Regions from separate parts of the Homo sapiens genome. Here all the other regions are linked to region 3. The links are contacts of gene promoters, found by promoter capture Hi-C in human tissues and cell types (Jung and others, 2019). All regions are on one chromosome and are shown on one strand. Each heading gives the region's core, a stretch centred on a gene start or on the middle of the fragment in contact. The rest is flanking DNA. Distances are from core to core; before and after follow the strand shown. Region 1 has its middle 92 kb from the start of NRBF2. Region 2 has its middle 98 kb from the start of LINC02625. Region 3 holds the start of ZNF365 (zinc finger protein 365). Region 4 has its middle 28 kb from the start of CABCOCO1.

Region 1 (3,965 bases), core at 584-3,083, 670 kb before region 3:
CTGCCTCCTGGGTTCACGCCATTCTCCTGCCTCAGCCTCCTGAGTAGCTGGGACTACAGGCACGCACCACCACACCTGGCTAATTTTTGTATTTTTAGTAGAGACGGGGGTTCACCGTGTTAGCCAGGATGGTCTCGATCTCCTGACCTCGTGATCCGCCTGCCTCAGCTTCCCAAAGTGCTGGGATTACAGGTGTGAGCCACTGCGCCTGGCTGGGTTTTCTCAGATATAATTTTTACTGATTTTTTTTTTTCTGTATATGGGCCAGACTTTCTTTTCCACAATTTTTACTGATTTCTTTTTTTTTTTTTTCCTGTTTGTGAGCCATACCTTCCTGTTCCTTTGAACGCCTCATCATTGTTTTTCTTTGTTGAAAGCTGGATATTTTGAATAATATAATGTGGCAACTCTGGAAATCAGATTCTACCTCCTTCTCAAGGTTTATTTTTGGTGCTGCTTGTTGCAGTTGTAGTTGTTTTGTTTAGTGACTTTACTAAACCAAGTCTATACAGTCTGTGTTTTCTGTTATGTGTGGCCAATGCTGTCTCTATTCTATTAGCTTAGTGGTCAGCTAATGAGAGAACAGTTGCCTTAGAGGCATGGAATTTAAAAATCTTCCAGACTTTGTGGAAGGGCCACGTGTATGTTTTGGGGCATGCCTTCCAACACTCAGCCAGGCAATTGATAACTCTGCATTTGCCTTCACTTCCTGCTTGCGCAGAGCCATGACGTCATTCAGAGATAAGGTCTTAGGGCTTTCTCTGGTCTTTGCTGAGTATGTACATTGCCCTGAGTGGCATGTGGCCTTTTAGATTTCCAGGAGTAATCAAAGCCCATACGTAAATCTCATTCCCCTGCCTTTCTTCTCAAGATTTTGGTTAGTGTGTGGTTTGCTACAAATGTTATCCATTGTCTCAGGCAGCAGCAACTAAAATATTTGCCTGGAAATATTTTTGACAAATGGCCTTTGGGTAGTGGATTTAGCATTTAGTTACCAAATTAGGCAAAATAAAGATAAGCCTTTTGAGTGGGTCTTTCAGGAAGCCATCAGACAGATCGAATAAAGAGAATTCTTTTCAAGTGAGGTCTGTCTGTTCTTTATATTACCAAGTATATGGTATATTATTCTTAAGGATATTGCTTAACTGGGGAGTGAGGGATGGGTCTAGGGAAAGATAAAATGCCACAAAGCTCATAAATAAATTGTTATTACCAATATTCATTTGTTTTTCCTGAAAAACAGAAAGTTCCCTTGTGCCTCTTCCCAGTCCATTAATCTCTCCCATCCACAATAATTGATGTGATTTATATCACCATAGGCTAATTTTACCTATTCTAAAGCTTCATGTAAGTGGAATTATAAGTTATGTACATTTAAACAAATTAACCTTTTCATTTTGAGACAATTTTAGACAGATTTACAGGCAATTATAAGAAATAATACAGAGATTCTGTGTAAATTTTACCCAGTTTTTCCCAATGGTACTGTCTTGCAAAACCATAGTACAATAATCACAACAAAGATACTGATATTAATACAGTCAAGATACCGAACATTTCTATCACCACAGGAATCTTTCATGTTGTTATTTTATAGATACACCCACTTCCCTCCTACTCCCTCCGTATCCCTAACCCCTGGCAATTACTATTTTTTCTCTATTTCTAAAGTATTGTCTTTTGAAGAATGTTACATAAATGAAATAATATAGTATGTAACATTTTGGTTTGGCTTCTTTTTCACTGAATATAATTCTCTGGATATTCATTCAAAATATTGTGTGCATCCGTAGTTGGTTTCTTCAAATTGCTGAGAAGTATTCCATGATATGAATATACTGCAGTTTGTTTAACCATTTATTCGTTAAAGACAGCTGAGTTGTTTCCAGTTTTGGCTATTATGGATAAACCTGCTATAAACATTCATGTACAGGTTTTTGTGTGAAAATAAATTTTCGTTTCTCTTGGGGATGCACAAGATTGGAATTTCCAGTGAAACCATCTGTGTCTGGATATTTCTTTTTTGGGAGTTTTAAAATTATGAATTAAACTTTCTTAATAGTTATACGGCTATTCATATCATCTATTTCATATTGAGCGATTTGTAGTGTCTTTAATTGAAAAAAAAAAAAAAGGTCCATTTTGGCAGAGTGTGGTGGCTCATGCCTGTAATCCCAGCACTTTGGGAGGCTGAGGTTGGTGGATTGCTTGAGCCCAGGAGTTTGAGACAAGCCTGGGCAATATGGAGAGACCCTGTCTCTACAAAAAAAATACAAAAATTAGCCAGGTATGGTGGTCCACGGTTGTAGTCTCAGCTATTTGGGAGACTGAGGAGGGAGGATCACTTGAGCCTGGGAGTTCAAGGCTGCAGTGAATTATGTTTGCACGACTGCACTCCAGCCTGGGTGGCAGAGTGAGACCTCAAAAAAAAAAAAAAAAAACAAATCATTTTTTGGTCTAAGTTGTCAAATATATGTGTATAGTGTTATTCTTAATATTCCCTTATTACTCCTTTGATTTCTGCGTAGTCTTTAGTGATATACTCTGTTTACTTCCTAAGTTAGCAATTTCTGTCCTCTTTTATTCTTTGTTAATCTTGCTAGAGATTTTACAGCTTTTTTCAATTAACCAGTTATTTTTAAAATCAATTTTCTCTTGTTTTTCTGCTTTCCATTTCATTAATTTCTTCTTTTATCTTTATTATTTTCTTTTTTTAAAAACAATTTAAATCTTTTTTTTTCCATCCATGGGACTCCGCTTGATAAATCTTTATTATTTTCTTTTTTCTGTTTGCTTTGGGTTTATTTTGCTCTACTTACTCTAAGTTTTTGAGTTGGGAGCTTAGATTATTGATTTGTAATGTTTCTGTCTTCTTAAATGTATGCATTTAGTGCATACATTAAATAAATTTCTCTCTTAACACTGCTTTAGCGCAAATTTTCATATGCTGTATTCTCATTTTCATTCATTTCAATATACTTAAAAAAAATTCCCCTGAACCTCCTCTTTGATCCTCTTTGACCTCATGTCTTTTTTAAAAGTGTGTTGTTTGGTTTTTAAGTGTTTGCAAGTTTTCCTTTTATCATTCTGTTACTGATTTCTAGTTTGATTCCATTATTGTCAGAGAGCACACTGTATGATTGCAATTCTTTTAAATGTTTGGAGGTTTGTTTTATGGCCCAGGATAAGGGCTATCTTATGGTATATGTTCTGTGAGCACTTGAAAAGTATTCGTATTCTGCTATAATGTGCTCTATAATGTTTAGATCTTGTTGGTTGATGTTGATTTTGCAACTTTCCTTTTTTCTTTTAGAGACAGAGTCTCACGTGTCACCCAGGCTGGAGTGCAGTGGCACAATCTTGGCTCACTGCAACCTCCACCTCCCAGGTTCAAGCAATTCTCATCCCTCAGCAACCTGAGTAGCTGGGATTACAGGTGTGCGGCACCATACCTAGCTAATTTTTATACTTCTAGTAGAGACGGGGTTTCACCATGTTGGCCAGGCTGGTCTTGAGCTCCTGGCATCAAGAGATCTGCCTGCTTCTGCCTCCCAAAGTGCTTGGATTATAGGTGTGAGCCACTGCACCTGGCCTATGTTGTTGATTTTTTTAAAATATATTCTTGCTCACTTTTTGTCTAGTTGTCCTATCAAATTTTGGGAGAGGTGTGTTGTACCTGCTAGTTATAATCATGGATTTGTCTGTTACTTCAGTTCTATCAGTTTTTGCTTCTTTGGAGTCTGTTGTTTGATGCATTTAGATTTAGGATTGCTATGTCTTTTTGGGGATTAATCTTTTTCATCATTATATAATGTCCCCTTCTGTCTCTAGTAACCAGTTTTTTTTTTTTTTGCTCTGAAGTCTACTTTATCTGAAATTAATATAGTCAGTCCTATTTTCCTTAAATTAGTGTTTGCATGGTATATATTTTTCCATCTTTTTAGTTTCAATCTTTCTATATTGTT
Region 2 (4,334 bases), core at 1,443-3,942, 610 kb after region 3:
TCATGTGACATTTACAAGGGGGTATCATTTTATTAATAGTGACATCTGACTGTGGGCATTTTTTCTTCTAATTAATTTTGTTTTGACTAATATTCTTTTTTAAAAATTAATAGATTTTATTCTTTTAAAACAGTTTTAGATTTTTTTAGAAAAGTTGTAGATTTGTAGAATAATTGAGCAGATAGTACAGAATTCCCCTATACAGTCCCCACTCCACCACTGCACACAGTTTCCTGTTAGTATTATTATTAATCTTACATTAGTATAGTACATTTGGTGCAACTGATGAACTACTATTGACACATTTTTATTAATTGAGTTTCATAGTTTATTCATATTTTTTAAGATTTCCCTTTTCTGTTCCAGAATCCCATCCAGGATACCTTACTACAATTGTTGTCATTCTCTTTACGCTCCTCTTTGCTGTGACATTTTCTTACACTTTCCTTGTTTTGATGATTTTGGCAGTTTTGAGGAGTACTAATCAGGTATAGACTGTTCCTTCACTGGAATTTGCCTGATGTTTTCATCACGATTAGACTGGGGTTTTAAGTTTTTGGCATGAAGATCGCAGAGATCTTCACCATTTTCACCTCATATCAAGGGTACATGCATTAACATGATTTATTGACTGTTGATGTTGACCTTGATCACCTGGCTGAAGCAGTGTTTGTCAGGTTTCTCAACTATGAAAGCATTACTTTTTCCATACTATATTCTTTGGAAGTCTGTATGTACAGCCCATACATCAGTGGAGTTATACTCCTCCTCCTTTGAGTGGAGTATCCATATAATTTATTTGGAATTCTGCAAAGAAGATTTGGACCAAAATTATTTCAATAGGTGGGTTTATCTGGGTTTGAGGATTATCCTTCTAAGCATTTTGTGGTTATAATTCTGCATGTTCTTTTGAAAAAGAATATTCACTTGTGTGTCATCTGTCTCTAGATTATAAACGTCATTAATTCCATGGACTCCCTCAAGTCAAGGACCTTAATTGTCTTCTTTCATTCTGGTACTTAGAACGCCCAGAATAAATTACAAGCTAGATTAAAAGGAAGAAACAAACACCAAAATGACCATCGAAGACATTTTCAATGAACATTCTCTGAAGCTAAAAATTATATTAACATAAAACACTTTGGCAGCTCTGACAAATAAAATACGATAAACCAATCTTCTTCACTGCAGGTTCTTCTGTGAAAAGGAAAGTCATCCTGAAAGCGAAAGGAATTTTTAGTATTCTCTCTTTGGTTTGGAATTACTTTGATCTGGATGGAATTATTTTGATCTGGATTCATCTTTCTTTGGAAACTTAAATTAATAGGTATTATGGCTGTCATGAGGGGGTCTTGACTTCTCTTATTTAACAGATGAATGTCCAGGAAACAAATGACTTTCATGTCCAGAAGAGGGACGTCTTCCAGAGGCTGAAATTTGAGATGTCAGAAGTATTTCTCCTCTACAATTGTTGGGAAAAGGAGCACATTTATTTTCTAGGGGAACGGAAGCATAATGAAATGCAATCTAAGAACATGCAAACTTATTATCTACCAGGATGATTGAATGGTTCCAATCAAATGAAGGATAGAAATAGAGGCTTTATATTCAGATTTTGGAAAAATGACTCCACAGTTATATTAAGGCACAATAGTGCCTGCAAATACCTGAAATAGTGGTAGTCTGTGGCTTGTTTATAACATAATGAATATATTTGCTCTTTGAAACTTATCATGGGATCTATGCAAAAAGTTTTCCAAATTATTCCTGCAAATGGAAGAAACATACTTTATTGTGGATGATGACAGTAAAGCTTCTCCTAAGTGATAGGTTGGTATTATTTTTAAATTGGCTCTTCAGAGGGCAACCGTTATGCCAAAGACTACTTAGAGTAGGTGGACTCTGTCACTTTAAAAAAGTCAAACATTTTCTTTATTTCTCCCTCTCTTAGAAACTGCTATGAAGTGGTGCTATGACATCATTAGCAGTAGGACTCTTTTTATAAGAATATTCCCTTTTCCAGGTCTCCATAGATAGAAGTCTTGGTACTAGAGAGATGACCTTTTTAAAAACATAAATCTGATGTCACTTGCTACGTAACGTTTGTCAACAATGAGTCATTGTTTTTAAGTTAAAAATAAAAATCTGTGCCCAGGTGCGGTGGCTCACGCCTGTAATCCCAGCACTTTGGGAGGCTGAGGCGGGCGGATCACGAGGTCAGGAGATCGAGACCATCCTGGCTAACACCGTGAAACCCCGTCTCTACTAAAAATACAAAAAAATTAGCTGGGCATGGTGGCGGGCGCCTGTAGTCCCAGCTACTCAGGATGCTGAGGCAGGAGAATGACGTGAACCAGGGAGGCAGAGCTTGCAGTGAGCCGAGATGGCGCCACTGCACTCCAGCCTGGGCGACAGCGAGACTCCGTCTCGAAATAAATAAATAAATAAATAAAATAAAAATAAAAATAAAAAATAAAAATAAAAATCTGTAATATGGTCCACAACCCCACAACAACGTTGGCTCTGGACAATTGTTCAGCTTCAGCTTGTGTCCCAAGGACTTGGCACATGCCTCCTTCTGTCAGAAACACATCTTCCTTCACCTTCCCTCTGGTTAAATTTTACTTCTTGGGCCCAGCCCTGAAGTTACCCATAGGAAGCTTCTCTGACCTCTTAGATGCCACCAAGCTCCTTTGCCTTATATTCTCCTAACTCCCTGAGCTTGTCTTTACCACAGTTACTATTAACTGCCCCCACTAAATTATTAGGGCAGATACCATGTCTATTTGGCTCACCACTAAATGCCCAGGCACATAGAAGGTGCTCAACAAATACATAATACATGAATAGATGAATGGAAATGAGTTATGTATTCTATCCTTGGATACATTTTCCAAAAACTTAATACACTCATTAGCATAAGCAAGTTTGTTCCCTTACTATAGTAATAAGGGAACAACAACAAACTTGCTTATTCTAATAATATTATTATATAATAAGGAAAAGGAAAGGTTAGCTTTCCCTTGATTTCATGTCAACTATGAGATGGCCAGATGAAGATAAAGGTTAAGCACGTGGGTTTTGTGATCGTACAGGCCCAAGTTCCAAAGTTAATTCTACCACCTACTGGCAGTACGATCATGGAGAGTTACCTAAACTTTCTCTGTATTCCAGTTTCGTCATCTGTAAAATAGGTCAGACTTGGTTTGGAAGCCCCGTCCCACCAATTATTAAATGTGTAACTTGGTTTAGGTTAATAATCCCTCTAAGCTTCAGGCTCCATAACTATAAAATGAGGCTAACTATTAAAGGCTAATAGTATCTACCTATCATCTCTCTCTCTCTCTCTGTCTCTCTCTCTCTCTCGGTTATTAGGAAGACTAAATGAATATAGTCTTCCTAATAACCATAATATATATATTATCATCACACATTATATATGTTACATGAATATATATATATATTTTCTTATAAACATATGAAAAGGTGTTCAACCCATGTGGAGTAAAACAATAAAAGCAAATTAAAGCAGTAGCATGACATTATTTTCTATCAGAATATCAAAGACAAAAAATTGACTAATGTACGTTGTTGGTAAAATGTAGAGAAAGAGGTATTCTTATACACTGTTGGTGGGCATACAAAATGGTGAAATATCTTTGACAATATCTAAGAATATTGGAACGCACATACAACTGGACCTAGGAATTCCGCTTCTAGAGTTTTGACCTACAGGTATAATTATACACATTCACAAAGATGTGTGCGCAAGGGTGGCGATACAGCATGGTGATAACAAACTGCTGGAAACAAAAAAGTTCAGCAGGAGGACCCATCAAAAAATCGTGAAACTGATAAATATTACATGGTTGTTAAAATGTACTGATAGGGAATTATCTCTCAGATATATTACTTGATGAAAAAGGAATGTAAACAGCAATATTAATTGTGTAAAAAAAGACCACTTATGCATGTATCCAATTGTTCGAATGGGCAAAAAATACTTTTGAAAGTTGTGGTTGCTCTTGCTCCTATTATCATATCTGAAAGTTGGGTTGCCAGAGAGATCCCTGGGCTCCTCCACCATGGAAAATATAGGAGATCAGAGTGGCAGGGTGGCTACCATGGGATGACTTCAACAGAGGGAGAGGACATGCTGCCCCACAGGTGCCAGTGGAGAGACAGAGAAGGCTCGGAATTCTGGCAGACAGCCTAATCAAGCAACTGGGCAATGGGTATTAGGGATGGGCAGTGGCATATTGAGTCCTCATAACCACTTCAAAAATAAGTGTCACTTCCATTGAATAGATGAGCAAATAGAAGTTGAGTAGCCT
Region 3 (3,983 bases), core at 19-2,518:
TGTCAAAATGGGTCCTAAGACAGCAAGCTCAGGACCTATCCTCAAGTACAGGAAAGATTACTCAAGCTATGCACAGTGGCATTAAGCCTGCAATCAGCTGAAAATTTTTCACCCTGAAATTTTTGCCTTTTTTTCCTTCAGGTATTGCTGTGATGACATAAACCAAAGTGCTAATCGTAACAATAACAGACCCCATACGTGAGTTTCACTGAAACCTGGGGACCCAATGTGTCAAATACCATTTGGCATAAGTGGGGCCATGGCCAAGATTTTTATTATAATAGAGTGTTCTGGACGGATTTGTCTTGTCTCAGATGCTATTTTATATGACAACCTCTAGGGATGGTCAGTGTGTGAACCAGGTAGGTATCAGCATACTCTCTTAATAACAGGAAGTTCTGGTTTCCTTGTAGGAATGCATTATCTTCACCCTAGCAACAGATGACTGTTGGCAACCCAATTCTGCAAGCAGTGCATATCTTCTATTCCTCCATGAAAGGTTTCTACTTAAATGTAACAAGCATTGGACCCGAAATGAGGGAGCCCAGCTGGGGTCTTTGGGTGAAAAGTGTCCTCAACCTCTTCAAAAGCAGAGGTGCAAATGGTCCCCAGGCAGCGAGGCAGGCAAGGCTTCTAGGTGAAGCCCCCGGCCCCCAGAGAGGGGAACCTCTTCCTGTGATGGGTACACCGGGATGTTTAACCACTGGTTTTCTGGGAACGAGATGCAAACCCTGGCTCAGCATAGGGCCAAAGACGCTGACAAGAGGTAAGGAAAGGGGAAGTCAGGATTCTAAGGGGGCAATGGGAAAAGGGTGGCATTTTGGATGGGGAAATGGGTAATCACACACTCCAGAGCACGCAGGCTTTTATGGGCCCAGAGGAAACCCAGTCCACTGGGCTGATGAAGAGCCCTAAGTGACTCTGCCAGAGAAGGGCAGGCTGGCAATGACCCTGCCCCGGGGTCCCAGCTCTCCCCGCCCCCTCTCCGCTGCGTGCCAGCCCACGGGTGCCAGAGTGGATTCGTGTGCACATGAGTTCCTGCTGGTGGGGGCCGGGAAGCCGGCTCTCCCAACTCCCCGCCATGCTGCGGGCTCGGGGACCCCCTCCCCAGCCCCGGCCACCCCGGCAGGTCCCCTCCGCCGAGCCGCGGGCGCAGATGGCCGGCGGCCGCCTCTTACCCGACTTGTTGCTGCTGCTGCTGCAGCCGCCGCCTCCGGTGCTGATGCTGCGGGAGCGAAGCGGTTTTCAGCAGAGCCGTAAATCAGACTGAGCCGGGCCGGCTCCCACTCCCCGCCGCACCTCCGCGCCGGGACCGGCGGCGTCCAGGGCGGAGCGAGGCGCGGCTAGCCAGCGGGGGCGGCGCTCGCGGGCACCGTGGGGCACCGCGCCGTGGGTGCGGGGGTTCCGGAACGCCGCGGCCCAGGGCTGCCACCTCCGCGGGGAACACCCTTGCTCTGCCCAGCTGGCGGGAGCATCATCTGCCCCCCCGCCACCCAGCCGGGAGCCCGATCCGACTCAGGATTACACTGACATCACTGCGAGAGATGCTGGGATCATTCCCCGGGGGAGGGAAGGAAAGACGCGTGTCAGCCTCGCAGTCGCGGCGCTTTCTGCAGGCCCTGGCAAGCTTTTTTGCACTAGTTTGGGGGGAGCGGGAGAGTGTGGATGAGGATGCAGCATAGCTGGGCATCTTCTTTGAAAATCTACCCGTTGGAAGGTCCGGGTATTTAATTAGGACCTCTTCATCCCAAGCAGCAGGGCGAGAATGTCCCAAAATAACTAACCCAGAGAGTACACTCCAGCCTTCCTAGCCAAGTGTCCTGAGGCTACGTTAACAGGCAGAACTAAATCTAGTAAAGTGCAGGGATTAATGAACAAACAGTTAAAGCAACAAGATCCCTCACCTACACCCCCATTTCTGAGGCGGACGCCCCTTTCCCTGGAGAAAAAATTTGTCCTCCTAAAGAGGGGATGTCCTGAAGAGAAGACGGCAAATCATTCCTTCTGAAGGACTCTGATGTCTCAGCTTGCTGGGCTTTTGCTTTTTTTTTTTTTTTTTTTTTTTTTTAACCTGTTTTGGTTTACCCCTACTGTAACTCCTGAAATGTGAAACCTAGATAAAAGTTACTGCTGGGTTTTCTTGTTCAAAGAAGAGAAGAGATTCTGTTCATCTGTAGACAGTTAATGCATCCTCTTGACTTCTCAGGGTGTCTTTTCTCAAGGCTTGCTGTTACTCATTTCAACACCCGATTTTATTTTAACGGTAAAGAGCTCAACAGTTATCTTAGTTGAAATTTTGTTTTGTTTTTGACAAATGAAAACAAATGAATTGCTTTGTTTTTTCACAAATGAATTATCACATCAAATGCAATGAAGATCCCAAGCTCTGGCATCAGACTTGATTCAAATCCTGGTTCTAGGGCCTGGGTCAAGTAACTAGACTTTTCTGTTCCTTCAATTCCTCATCTATGAAATGAAGATAATCAAGACCTACCTCTTAATATAGCGGTGGATCGAATGTGCTATGATGATGGAGGTAAAAACCCTGCCTGACAGGGACACACACTGATAAAGTCAGCTGTTATCGTTGTTGCTACTTCATTTATAATTATTATTAATTCCATAAAAAAGGGGCCTACACACATTTAAAAAGCAGGAAGGAGAAGAGGAATTAATATGTACTAACTTCTACGTAAATGGAGATAGGCTATTGTGCTGGGGTGTGTTTGCTTTGAAAATATTATATCTCATTGAAGTTACTTTTTGACTCGCTCTCAAGACTATTCCAAGAATCAATTTATTTAGTACAAAATCTTAAAGTCTGAAAGATACACTCATTGGAGTGCCAAGTTATCTCCGTCATCTTGTGAGGTGCCTGCAGGTTAACCTCTTACACCCACTGCCTTCATGGCAAAACATAACAAAAGCATGCTCTGGTCCTCCCTTCCCCCCCGCCCCTTTTTTTTTTTTTTTTTTTTTTTTGAGACGGAGTCTCACTCTGTCTCCCAGGCTGTAGTGGCGCGATATCAGCTCACTGCAACCTCTGCCTCTTGGGTTCAAGCGATTCTCCTGCCTCAGCCTCCCTAGTAGCTGGGATTACAGGTCCCTGCCACCACCCGGCCAATTTTTGTATTTTCAGTAGAGACGGGGTTTTGCCGTGTTGGCCAGGCTGGTCTTGAACTCCTGACCTCAGGTGATCTACCGGCCTCGGCCTCCCAAAGTGCTGGGATCACAGGCGTGAGCTACCGCGCCCAGCCAGCTCCTCCCATTTCTTAGACAGCTGCTACTTCTTTTTTGGTCCTAAGTTCCTCCCCTGTTAAATGAGAGGATGGAGATTTTCAAAGTCCTTTTCTCACCCTAAAAATATAAAATATTATCAAATAATTATGGAGAGGTTATTCTGTGCAGGGCCTAAAGCTGAGTATTGTGGGAAATTCAACTTGGTCAACAGGCATTTAGGACCTTAAGTGGTTCTCAAAGTGTCACTTGTGTATACCACCAATTACCTCATTTAATCTTTGAACACCTGTGAGGTAGGGAGGACCTTGTACACTCAGTTCTAGCCACCTTGGCATCCCTTTACTTAAGAGCCCTGCTTTTTCCCGTCTCTAGGGCCTCTTTATCTGGTAATGCCTACTCATCCCTCAGAGCTCATCCCAAGTATGCCCTCTCTGAGGAGGTCTTCCCTGACACTCCTGGACAAGGTTAGTGCGTACTAGGAAAATTTATTATGACAGGATTTGTCACAATAATTCTATGTGCTGGGTTATGGATGTAGTTGTCTGTTTAATATTTATGTCCACTGTTAAGTTGTAAGCTATGTGAGTCAGGGTCCTTGTCTGTCTTACTCTCCAGTATATTCCCAGGACTTAGCACAGTGCTGATCAAAGTGCTCAAAAAATATTTGTTAAAAGAATGAATGCTGAAGAAATAAATCCCCTTTCTACATAGGAGGAAACAGGCCCAAAGAAGTTAAGTAACTT
Region 4 (3,955 bases), core at 1,139-3,638, 740 kb after region 3:
GCATTTGTTTAGTTGTATGAGCATAGTGAGTAGTCAATAAATATTGCCCTCATTATCATTCAATAAATACTTATTAGATTAGTTGAATCTGGAAACAAAATTCAAGGGCTTCACTACCTTTAAAAATGTTTCTCATTCCATATTTTTTAAAAAAGTGATAGTGATAGTATTTAGAGACAAAATTTGTGAATTTGTTCAAGTATGTTCCTTATTGGTGATATTTCTAGATTTATGGACTTCATGACCTATGTGTGCTGAACTTGTCTGAATGACACAGAACAAAAACAACCCAAAAGGTAATTTATTGACTTACTGGTGAGTCAGAGGTAGGTCAGAATTCAGGCCAGGTTTGATCCAGAAATTGAAACCATGTTACCAAAGATCCCATTTACTTTCTGACTATCCTCTTTGCCTGCCAAAGTGTCTACTTCATCCAAGAAAGGCTCAGTTTCTGGGAACTGAATGCTTCCTAATTCAAATTAAGTAGTGAAAGAAAATCTCTTTTGGTAGCTCTCAAAGAAGAGTATAGAAATTTATTTTTTAAAGAAACTCTCAGCAAAGATCTTCTTGTGTTTCATTGACCCCCACTAGGATCTGGTTGTTATGTCAGAGATTGAATGTGTTAATTGGTTAGCCAGAATCCATTTCTGGTGTGGAGAATAGAGTCAGCTTTTCCTGTGCTAAATACTATGTTGGAGAAGCAAGGACACACAAAAGGAGATTAGGGAATGCTTACTCAGAGAGAAGGACAATGGATAAAAGTAGGCCAAAATATGCACTACATATTCCCAAAGCTACTGGTGTGTTCCAAATTTGAGGTCTCGTGTTAGATGTGACCTCAGCTCTCTATTTTATATAACATCGAATTATTTTCCTGTACACTGATTAAAAGTCATTATGAACATAGTATATTAGCATGGAGGTATTTAAAGAATTACATCTATTTGTACTCAAACTTTCTCAATCTCTTCCCAAAGCAGTGACCCACAGAAGAGTTTGCTATTCTTGGACAGGAGGTCTAGATTAATTATAATAAATATAGCACATTCTGAGCAATTCTGAATCTGGAGTGTGGTATTTGAAGCTTTGAAACCAAAGACAAATTACTGGCATTATTTTGTATTATCATGTAACTGAATTTTCATCTTCAGAAAAAAGTCTTATTAAGCAAGATAGAAATGAGACTGTAATGGATTCATTGGAATCATTTTGGCCAAAACCACATTTTCTACTTTTAGCAAATTACAGCATTATCAACATGTAATCCTTCTTATTTTCCCACATATTATTTAACAAAATATTAGTCAAGTTGGAAATTATTTTTTTGTTGCTATCAAGGAAATGTATGCTCTCAATTCTGGCATCCTTCAAGCATTTACAGATGATACTTCACAAATGTCTGAGGATACAGTGTTTATCCAAGCTGCAGTAGACTAAAAATAATTATGGCTCCAAAGTGGTTTGCATCCCCATGGAGAATATATACCTCACTGACAGGAAAATAATCACAGAACCAAATGATACCAAGTACAACAAAGTGATGCAACCGTAAACTCTCAGAGAACTTTCAGAATACAAAATTATTTTGGACTTTGTGGTTTTTGAGTGCACCAATGAGTCTCATGATAGTGACTGAGTTCCCTAGAAGAATGCAGTATTTTGGACAGTCTGTTAGTACTTGGAGCCATGGATTTTTTTGAGTCAGATGAAAGACACAAATACTCATACCAGAAAACTGCTTTTCCACCCCAAATTTTGTATAGCGTTTTGGGGGTTCATGTACTCCCTACAGCTCATTTTTAGACCTAAGTAAATATAAACCATTTTTTATCAGAATGCAAAATGCAGCCCGCCTTCCTTGAATTTTAAAATTTAATATCTGGCTTCTTACTGGCAAAGATGTGATTTGAAAGACCTGAGTTCAATGTTCCCCAAAATATATTTCTAGTAGTTTAATCTAACAGGAATAAGAACCTAAGAAGGAGTAAGAAAAATGTAGCATCAATGGATTCTTCTAATGCCTTACACATAGTAGGTACAATGAGTCTTATATAAATTAATGAAAAGTCAGTCTTAAAATTATGCAGAGCTAGCAGCTCAATTCCAATGTTATAAAAGCAATAATGGGCAAGTACTTATTAAATGATTCCCGGTTATTTTTGTCATACACAAACTACTTCATTATTGTACAATTTTTAGGCTTCTAAATAAAGTTTTCTTAATATGTGAATTCACTGGAATACACAAAGTAGTTAAAGTGCCTGGCTAGTTTCCTTCCATTTTTTTGCCTTTATAACTTCAGTGAAGTGTTATTTTTTAAAAATACATAATATATCATGTTTATGCTGGTACACAAATAATTCCATGAAGATGTTTCTTACATTCTAGATTTTAGAGTTGATTTTACATCTGTCTTTTGATTTTTATAATTGCTAATAAGCTGAGTGTTTTCTAAAATCAGTGTTCTCACTGGAGAGATCTGAAACATCGACTCAAATGACTGAAAAAACACGACTGGTCCTAACGCTGAGCAAAACTATGTGGAAAATTTGTAATGATTTGTAAACATTTCACACTTATTATGATTCAGATATGGACTGTGGCCCAGAAAAGATTTGGATTTATTTTGATTGTCCCTGTAATTAGCTCAGCAATGTTTTTCTAAGTTATGATTTCATGCTGACTATTAGAAGTTGCACATTGTTGAGATGCCACATGCAAAGAAGTTATGGGATTATATGGCAATAATTAAACACACTATAAGGTAAATTAATCAGGACTGCAAACCAAGAAAACATGAAGTAAATGTAACATAAATAGACTTAAGAAGGCAAACTGATATCTTGTCTTATGTTTTAGATAAAATTCTAAGCACATAGCCCAATTCAATTTTGTACAAGCAGAGAAAAACTACAGTACTAATGAGAAATATGGACTTTGCTACTATATTGTTACCATCAGTGTGGAGATCAAGGGAACATGTGTTGGCCCACATGCTATACTACTGATATCTTTTATTCTGGGATGAGTGACAGCAGGACTGGCTACTAATTTGTGGGGCCCAGTGAAAAATGGAAATGCAGGAGTCCTTGATCACCATTCATTAAGGATTTCAAGATGGCGACCAAAAGTTTTAGACCCAGCATGGGGTTCCACATGATGACCTGTCCTGGTAATAAGAGAAGAAGGGAGTCAGAGAGGTGCTTCTGAATTCCATCTGTCCCTCTCTCCCACTCCTCCTGGGCTCTGCAGAGATGTTCAGACCAAGACCAAGGAAAGAACCAGCTCTCTGTTTGGTACAAGTTTTGAAGGCAAGTAAGATGACAAGGGCTGTTCCTTTCTAAAATCTATCCTCAAGATAGGTTGTGAGGATTAATGAGTTAATATCAGAAATTGCTACAGGGTAAATCTTCACTTGCCTAAAAGAGCATAAAATTTTTATTTTGTCTTTTATGCTTTCTGACAATCCCTTCAGTCTGCCACTAGGCTTTTAGTGGAGCGTGTGGAGAATTTAGGACAAGATGATGAATCTTACTCAAGGGCATCTTGATAGCTTTGCAAACTTAATGCAATAATGTAGGTCTTGGGCCCTGTGTCATGAAGTAAACAAAGACAGCTGAAATTTCAGACAAAAGAGGCTATAGCTCATCTATTGTCATTATTTAGGAGACAAATTACAGCAATGAGTATTTTTTTCCCTTAAAATCCCTTTTATTTTTGCATGTCTACTTAATTTTATTTTGAACAACTAGAAAGCTACAGAGATACTCCGTTGAATGTTTAAAGCTGTAATTTATTTTAAACAGTGCGTACAGAATATATTTTGGCCTTGAAAAGTTAAAAAAAAAAAGGTAGGTTGTACAACTTGGAAGCTGGGTAAAGCCCCAAATGAAGGCTTTTGGAAGAGCTAGGACAGAAGGAAAGTGGCAGTCTTCTTGGGTTTTGCACAAATGTG

What was found. Contacts are between HindIII fragments. The study calls those that stand out against the background at their distance.
Region 1: a contact is called between a fragment that was not itself captured here and the fragment with the promoter of ZNF365 in region 3, in 2 of the 25 tissues and cell types used here (IMR-90 fibroblasts and spleen).
Region 2: a contact is called between a fragment that was not itself captured here and the fragment with the promoter of ZNF365 in region 3, in 1 of the 25 tissues and cell types used here (spleen).
Region 4: a contact is called between a fragment that was not itself captured here and the fragment with the promoter of ZNF365 in region 3, in 1 of the 25 tissues and cell types used here (hippocampus).

Annotation. Positions count from the first base shown.
Region 1 is chr10:63,039,211-63,043,175 of GRCh38, reverse strand. No RefSeq gene overlaps it. Among named protein-coding and RNA genes, the nearest start is that of NRBF2, 92 kb to the left of the region's middle. The HindIII fragment of the contact is 5,835 bases long and covers 1-3,965 here.
Region 2 is chr10:61,767,622-61,771,955 of GRCh38, reverse strand. No RefSeq gene overlaps it. Among named protein-coding and RNA genes, the nearest start is that of LINC02625, 98 kb to the left of the region's middle. The HindIII fragment of the contact is 4,332 bases long and covers 527-4,334 here.
Region 3 is chr10:62,371,654-62,375,636 of GRCh38, reverse strand. It overlaps ZNF365 (zinc finger protein 365), which reads right to left and starts at 1,268. Exons shown (of 5, transcript NM_014951.3): 1 at 1,179-1,268. It overlaps LOC283045 (a long non-coding RNA gene), which reads left to right and starts at 510. Exons shown (of 4, transcript NR_104162.1): 1 at 510-766. The HindIII fragment of the contact is 5,251 bases long and covers 1-3,983 here.
Region 4 is chr10:61,632,553-61,636,507 of GRCh38, reverse strand. No RefSeq gene overlaps it. Among named protein-coding and RNA genes, the nearest start is that of CABCOCO1, 28 kb to the left of the region's middle. The HindIII fragment of the contact is 7,774 bases long and covers 1-3,955 here.